2 separate regions of the Homo sapiens genome follow, and region 1 is linked to region 2. The links are contacts of gene promoters, found by promoter capture Hi-C in human tissues and cell types (Jung and others, 2019). All regions are on one chromosome and are shown on one strand. Each heading gives the region's core, a stretch centred on a gene start or on the middle of the fragment in contact. The rest is flanking DNA. Distances are from core to core; before and after follow the strand shown.

Evidence for each region. The method cuts DNA at HindIII sites, captures the fragments that hold promoters and counts their contacts. A contact is called where the count stands out against the background at its distance.
Region 1: a fragment that was not itself captured here is called in contact with the fragment with the promoter of EIF2AK2 in region 2 in 1 of the 25 tissues and cell types used here (pancreas).

The regions. Positions count from the first base shown.
Region 1 is chr2:36,989,149-36,993,393 of GRCh38, reverse strand. It overlaps HEATR5B (HEAT repeat containing 5B), which reads left to right. Exons shown (of 36, transcript NM_019024.3): 34 at 2,595-2,746. Among named protein-coding and RNA genes, the nearest start is that of STRN, 25 kb to the right of the region's middle. The HindIII fragment of the contact is 5,900 bases long and covers 1-4,245 here.
Region 2 is chr2:37,154,307-37,158,389 of GRCh38, reverse strand. It overlaps EIF2AK2 (eukaryotic translation initiation factor 2 alpha kinase 2), which reads left to right and starts at 1,410. Exons shown (of 17, transcript NM_001135651.3): 1 at 1,410-1,482. RefSeq lists silencers at 1,111-1,300, 1,501-1,620 and an enhancer at 1,351-1,480. The HindIII fragment of the contact is 10,738 bases long and covers 1-4,083 here.

The DNA.
Region 1 (4,245 bases), core at 1,694-4,193, 170 kb after region 2:
GGCTAGTTTTTGTATTTTTAGTAGAGATGGGGTTTTGCCACGTTGGCCAGGCTGGCTTCGAAATCCTGACCTGAGGTGATCCCCCAACCTCGGCCTCCCAAAGTGTTGGGATTGATTTACAGGCATGAGCCACTGCACCCGGCCCATAATTTTTTTTTTAATTCAGTGGGTCCCTTACTGTTACTTCAATGTGGCCCCATTATTTCTTGAGCACTTCCATACTTTCTAGCCCCAAGATGTAGCAGACTGAGTATTTCCCCCTCACTGTTCTAGAATCAGCCCCTTCTCCAAAAGCCTTGATTCCTTTCAGTAGAAAAATCATATTTAGATGCCCCATCTTCTTAAAATCACAATTTAAAAATAAAATGGGGCCGGACACCTTGGTTTAAACCTATAATCCCAGCACTTTGGGAGGCCAAGGTGGGAGGGTTGCTTTAGGCCAGAAGTTCGGACTTTCCTGGGCAATATGGTAAGACGCTGTCTCTATAAAAAATTTTTAAATTCAGCTGTACATGGTGGTGCATGCCTGTAGTCCCACCTCCTCGGGCGGCTGAGGTGGGAGGGTTGCTTGAGCCCAGGAGTTCAAGGCTGCAGTGAGTTATGATCATGGCACTGCACTCCAGCTCTTCCTTGGGGGGAAAAAAGAAAAAAAAATAATTTTTAAAAAATGAATATAAAATAATTTTTGATAAAAAATTGCTTGCAGCATTGCCAACTCTGAGTAAGAGATTATATTCTATGTAGAATAAATTTCCTATGATGGGGTTTTCAGGGTTTTTTTGTTTTAGGTTTTTTGTTTGTTTGTTTGTTTTTGAGACAGGGTCTCACTCTGTCACCCAGGCTGGAGTGTGGTGGCATGAACGCAGCTCACTGCCACCTTAACCTCTAGGGCTAAAGTGATCCTCCTGCCTCAGCCTCCCAGGTAGCTGGGACTGCAGGCATGCACCACCAAGCCTGGCTAATTTTTTTGTTTTTTGTAGAGACAGGGTCTCAGCATATTGCCCAGGCTAGTCTTGAATTCCTGAGCTCAAGCAGTCCTCCCAATTCAGTTTCCCAAAGTGCTGGGATTACAGGAGTGAGCTGCCTAGTCTGGGTGGGTTCTCAGGTTTTTAACATTCGTGACTCAGGTTATTATAAATTGATTAAATCCTTCAAATTTTACATCTCTTTTGTTTGTTTTTTTGTTTGTTTGTTTTGAGACTGAGTCTCACTCTGTCACCCAGGCTGGAGTGCAGTGGCGCAATCTTGGCTCACTGCAACCTCTGCTTCCCGGATCCAAGCAATTCTGTAGCCTCAGCCTCCCAAATAGCTGGGATTACAGGCGTGTGCCACCATGCCCAGCTAATTTTTGTATTTTTAGTAGAAATGATGTTTCACCATGTTGTCCAGTCTGTTCTAGAAATCCCAAAGTGCTGGAATTACAGGCATGAGCCACCACACCCAGCCGACATCTCTTTTTTTAAACTTTATTTCTTTACATTAAGTTAATGGACTTTTTCTAGACTATTGTTCTTAACCCTTTATTCCATATTACAAAAAGCTGGTACCCTTATTATGAGATAATGTTAGCATGTCACATATATATGTTTGTAATCCTTCTAAAGTACTGATTATCACTGGGTATTTACAGTTGCCAAAATAGGTCAAATTTACACAAAAGATAGGGATCAGTTTTATTGAAGAAATGATAATCACAAAATGTTTGGAACTCGTATTTTATATGTTCAGAAATATTGTTCTTTAGAATAAATGTTCATATTTCTAGTTATTTCTAATTACGTACTATATTTCTGTTCAAGTTGTATCTATTCCTGAATAAATGTAATGGCAAGAAATTCCTTAAAATTCTTAGAACACTGTCTTCAGGAAATTGTCCAAGTTTTTTTTTTTTTTTTTTTGAGACAGAGTTTCGCTTTTGTTGCCCAGGCTGGAGTGCAATGACACAATCTTGGCTCACTGCAACCTCCACCTCCCCGGTACAAGCGATTCTCCTGCCTCAGCCTCCCAAGTAGCTGGGATTACAAGCATGCACCACCATGCCCAGCTAATTTTGTGGTCAGGCTGGTCTCGAACTCCCAACCTCAGGTGGTCCGCCTGCCTCGGCCTCCCAAAGTGCTGGGATTACAGGCGTGAGCCACTGCACCCAACCGATTTTTTTAATGGTTATATGGAATTTACAGGTTTTCATATTTACTAAATTGAAAGGAGATATCACTTAAAAATGTACTCTGGATTTTAAAATTAGTTAGAATATTTTATAATAATTTAGCATTAAATATAACTGCATACATTTAACTTTATACATTGAACTTCTTACAGTTGTCTGTGGACTGTATTAGATTAAGGCAAGTACTACTATAAATGTTGTGGGGAGAGAGAGATGATTGTTCAAGATTAAAATTCTGGCCAGGCACAGTGGCTGACACCTGTAATCCCAGCACTTTGGGAGGCCAAGGCAGGAGGATCACTTGAGCTCAGGAGTTCAAGACCAGCCTGGACAACATGGCAAGACAACGTCTCTCTCTACAAAAATAAAAAAATAAAATGCCAAAATGTTTTAGAAACAGCACACTTCTTTCATTTTTCATTTTCAGAAGACTCTGTACCTACACCTGATGAAGTAAGCATGCTAACAGCAATTGCACTCTTCCTGTGGTCTGCTAGTAATGAAATAATAGGAGTCCAGTCATTACAGAATGGCTGCATGAACAGATTTAAAAATGCATTAAATTCATGCGACCCATGGGTAAGTTACACGTTACACAGACATAGATAAAAACATTTCCCTTTATCAGGAAAATGTCAGATTGATTCATTAAAATATGTGATACATAATGAAAAGCTAAGTATTTGCACTATGGCTTTTAAATGGAAAAACTGAAACAAATCACTGGGTTTAAGCACTAGAACACATGTGTATGTTTATTCACATATGTAGAAATTCTTCAATATCTGAAATATTTGATTAACCCCAGGGCATACTGGTAGAGACAAGAGTCTATGATTATGTTTTCCAGTGTTTATTTAAATGACGCTAAGGACATTAAAGGAGAAGCTTATATTATTGACGTTTTAATGAACCTGCTAGAAACTAGTTTGTCTAGAAAGTAAGATTTTTTATTTTACAATGTCAGAGTCTAAACTTGATTCTCAAGCCTGCTACACGTCAGAAATTTTAAAAAGCAGAAACATTCTTGAAGACCAGGTGCGGTGGCTCACGCCTGTAATCCCAGCACTTAGGGAGGCCAAGGCAGGCAGATCAGGAGGTCAGGAGTTCGAGACCAGCCTGTAGTGAAACCCCATCTCTACTAAAAATACAAAAAAAATAGCCAGGTGTGGTGGCATGCGCCTGTAATCCCAGCTACTTGGGAGGCTGAGGCAGGAGAATCACTTGAACCCAGGAGGTGGAGTGAGTTGAGATTGTGCCATTGCACCACTCCAGCCTGGGCAACAGTGTGAGACTCCGTCTCAAAAAAAAAAAAAAAAAAAAAAAAGGAAACATTCTTGGATTCCAGTACTGTCTTCCTGAATCTGAGTCTCCAGATAGGTGGCTCCAAGATCTGTATATTTAAAATGTTCTTCAGGTTTTTCTTGTGTCTAGCCATATTTAGCCACTTGTGTTCTACCAAAGCACTGAAATGGTTTTCTTCCACTGTGTCCCATATATTGGTGGGACTTCCCTCCCTCTCTTCCTTCTTTCCTTCCTTCATTTTTTTAAAAAAGTGTTAATCTGAAGCCTTTCTAATACAAAGTGGAGCCAGTAAGACTTTATTTTCTAGGTCTGGAAACCTTACATTGTTAACAGTCATTTCCAGGGAATCAAGTGGTTTTGAGATATCTAAGCAATGTATTTTTATAGCTTTGTTTCAGATCATTCAAATATTTAACCTTCCTTAGTAAATATATTTGGTTAAAATGGGAGGGACAATTGTACATTAAAGGAAGAATTAAAAACAGAAGTGGGAATAACTGATTTCTAACTTATTTCACAGTATTAAAATATGGGAATTGGCCGGGCATGGTGGCTCACACCTGTAATCCCAGCACTTTGGGAGGCCAAAGCGGGCAGATCACAAGGTCAGGAGATTGAGAGCGTCCTGACCAACATGGTGAAACCCCGTCTCTACTAAAAATACAAAAATTAGCTGGGTGTGGTGGTGCGCACCTGTAATCCCAGCTACTTGGGAGGCTGAGGCAGGAGAATCGCTTGAACCCGGGAGGCAGAGATTGCAGTGAGCCAAAATG
Region 2 (4,083 bases), core at 161-2,660:
GCTCTGCCTCATGTCTACCTTCTAAACCTCCCGCCAGTGCTTTACATATAGGGGACTTAAGCTATGCCCAGGACCAGAGCTACAAGGAAAGTGTAGATTTTAGTTGTTGATACCCTGCAATGTGGGGTTGTTGGGGGATGGAGAAGGGAGGCTGGAGAGGATGCCTGCCTAGGTGTAATTTTTTTTTTTTTTTTTTGAATTGGAGTCCCACTCTGTCACCCAGGCTGGAGTGTAGTGGCATGATCTCAGCTCACTACAATCTCTGCCTCCCAGGTTCAAGCAATTCTCCCTGCCTCAGCCTCTGGAGTAGCTGGGATTACAGGTGCCTGCCACCACGCCCAGCTAATTTTTGTGTTTTTTAGTAGAGACGGGGTTTTGCCATGTTGGCCAGGCTGGTCCTGAACTCCTGACCTCAGGTGATCCGCCCGTCTCAGCCTCCCAAATTTCTGGGATTACAGGCATGAGCCACCGCGCCGGCCTAGGCATAATATTTAATGTATATTTGAGGTCTGTCTTTGGACCACCTTCCTCTCTTATCCCAGCTAAGATACTGAGAGTACAAACTCCTGGTTATAATTCTAACTCCGCTGCTTACTACCTGTGTTAATCCAAATTCTCTGTGCCTCAATACTCATTAGTCACTGTGCCAATGAACTCTGGAACTCTGTGTGACTCTGGGAGTGTGTCGCAGTCCATCAGGTGAGTAGAATTTCTATAAATCGAGGACTACTGGTGTTGGACTATGGTAGGAAGCTCCCTGGGGTACTGTAGGAAGCAGGTGTCTCTATTTAGCAGCAGGACTGGCCCACAGGTGCTTTTACAGCGGCTGGCAAGTGTCTGCTCATGAATGAATGGATGGGTGGGAGCGGAGTGAAGGAGATTACGCCCCCAGGCCTCTGATCCCCAGGCTTGTAAAGGTGAGGGGGCCGCGGTGTGGCAAGAGGGAAAGAGTGCTTTGGTGTTTACAGGCCCCGACTTGAACTGAATCCTGGCTTTGCCACTTACGAGCGGCAGGACCCCTGGGTGAGTTCATTTACTCAGTTTCCTCTATTGTAGAATGGAGCTGGTAAGATCCATCTTCCCAACCCCACCCCAAATATTTGTGTTGAGAGTAAGTGGAACCCTTGATTCGAGAACCTAGTGCGGCCAGCGGACTAGGCCAGCGGAGAACCCTAGGAGCCCCGGGGGCGGGGGATGGGGGTGCAGGGTCCTGGCCGTGCAGGGGCAGCACGTGGGTGCCAAGCCCGCCTGCCGGTGCCAAGCCCGCCCGCCGGTGCCAAGCCCGCCCGCCAGTGCCTCTCGCGCGCACTCTGGATCCAGCGCCAATTTACCCCAATCCCGTAGCAGACGAGGGCTTGTGCGAGAGGGGGCCGGGCGGCTGCAGGGAAGGCGGAGTCCAAGGGGAAAACGAAACTGAGAACCAGCTCTCCCGAAGCCGCGGGTCTCCGGCCGGCGGCGGCGGCGGCGGCGGCGGCGGCGCAGGTGAGCAGGGCAGGGGGCAGCCGAGGGAGCGCGGGGAGCGGGGGCCGGGGGGCCACGTACGAGGGGCTGCAGGCCCAGCCGGGGCGGGACTCGCCAATCCTGCGTCCCCAGCTCAGGACGCGGACGCTGATCCGAAGCCCCTGGCCCCGGCTGGGTCAGCACTGGGAGAGCAGGCCCAGGTCCGCAGCCCGGGTGTGGGGCCCTCCCCAAATCCAGGGAAAGGATCGTGGAGCGGGGTGGGGACTGAAAGCCATTTCCTTCCCGTGAAGAATTTTTATCAGTGCAAGTAACAAATATTTCCCAGGCAGCAGTTGTGGGGCGGGGTCTAGTGGAAGACGAATAGGCCTAGTGGCTTGACACATGGAAAATACGGAGGCCTGAAATACTCATAGACTGGCTGAACAATCTTTGGCTAAAAATCTCTTCCGTGGAGAGTTGCAGTAGTTTCCCAATTGCCTGGCCGCAGTTCCTGTTCCCACTCCGTATCCTCACCCCTGAACCTCCACCCCCTACCTCTTCTCCACACCTCAGCATCTGGAATGTTCCTTTAAGTAAGAACCAGACTCTCCCCTGCTCCGACCTTCCCCGTAGCTTTCCTGTCTCATCAGAATCCTATAAACATTTATTAAGGCTCACAGGCAAGGCCCCTCGCACCCCCTACTCCGGCCACGCTGGCTTCCTTGCTGTTCCTGGTGCACAGCCAAGCATCCTCCAGCCTCTAGGCCTTTGCACTGCTTGTTTCTTCTTTCTGGAAAGCTTCTTCCCCAGATAACTGCATGGGGAAATCCCTCCCTTATCCTGCACTGCTTCCCATGCCAGCTTATCAGAGCAGCCTTCCTCAAACAACCTGCCTATACAAGAAACCCCGCTCTGCCCTTGCTGTTCCCCCTTCCACTACTTCGGTTGTCAACATAGTAGTTATCACCTGGTGACATTTTCTTTCTTTTCTTTTCTTTTTTTTTTTTTTTGAGACAGATTCTCACTCTGTCGCCAGGCTGGAATGCAGTGGCACGATCTGGGCTCACTGCAACCTCTGCCTCTCAGGTTCAAGCGATTTTCCTTCCTCAGCCTCCCAGGTAGCTGGGACTACAGGTGCCCGCCAGCACAGCCAACTAATTTTTTTATTTTTAGTAGAGACAGGGTTTCACCGTGTTGGCCAGGCTGTATGTAGTCTGCTGGAAAGGAAGTGGAGGCATAGCCAAAATAATTTCTGGGCATTAGTAAGATGGACAAATATTATTTTTTAGTGATTATGATGGAGGTTTCTTCCAGATGAGTGAATAAGATGTAGAATCTGCTCCCCAAAGAGCTCACTAATTAGTTTAAAAAGCAGTCAGGGCTGTGTTGAAGGTTGGGCAAGGTGGAGTGGCAAGCCCATACTAGCTGACCCTCCAGCATCAAAGAAGGCTGTGTTGATCCTGATAGATGAGTGGATATTGGTGGGTACAGAGAGAATGCAGATATTGCACTATAAATGTAGAGAAAAGCAGGTGACAAGTCCTGGATGGGGTATCTGGAGATATTTTGGTACTCACTCATTCATTATTGAGCCTGGTCCCTTACCTGTAGTAATTCATGCTCTATTTTGGAAAATAGTTAAATAAGCAATTTTAATAAAGGGGATGAGCACTGTGGAAGAGCCTGTGAAGGAGTGTCTGGGATTTTGAGCTGAAATCTGTAGGAAGTAGAAATTGACCAGGCCAAGACAGCAGAAGGAATAGAGTCAAGGGCATTTTAGGAGGGAGCAGGTTGGACAGAGGCAGTTGGGAGTTCAGGAGAGAGTCCATGGTGGAAGCGTGCTTTTGAGAACCATCATTGTGTCCGTGGAATTTAAAGCCACAAACCTGGAGGTGATCACCAGGGGAGTGAGTCCAAGTAGAAAAGAGCAAGTCTAAGGACCGGGCCCAGTGATGCTAGAATATCTAGAAAAGAGGAAGTTAGAACCATAGAAAAGGTTAAAAAAAAAAAAATAGAAGAAAAGAAGTTGAAGATGAACCAGGAAAGGAGACAGAAAAGGAGTAGCTTGTCAGAACAGAAGAAAACCAGGCCCAGGTGCCATGGCTCATGCCTGTAATCGCAGCACTTTGGGAGGCCAAGGTGGGTGGATCACCTGAGGTCAGGAGTTTGAGACCAGCCTGGCCAACATGGGGAAACCCCGTCTCTACTAAAAATATAAAAAATTAGCCGGGCGTGGTGGTGGGCGCCTGTAATCCCAGCTACTCGGAATGCTGAGGCAGGAGAATCGCTTGAACCCGGGAGGCAGAGGTTGCAGCGAGCCGAGATGCCACCATCACACTCCAGCCTGGGCAACAAGAGCGAAACTCTGTCTCAAAAGAAGAAAACTAGGAGAGTGGGTGTCTTAAAAGTCCAAGCTAAGACAGGGAGAGGAGGGCGAAGAGGATGCGCAACCCCATCAAATGCTGGTTGTAAGTCAAGTAGAGAAGGACTAAGAACTGACTACTGGATTTAGTGATAGGGAAGCCATTGGTAACCTCGACAAAAACAATTTCAGTGGCTTGTGGAGACTGCATGATTGAATTGATGTTTTTTTGTTTGTTTGTTTTGTTTTTGTTTTTTTTTTTGAGACGGAGTTTCGCTCTT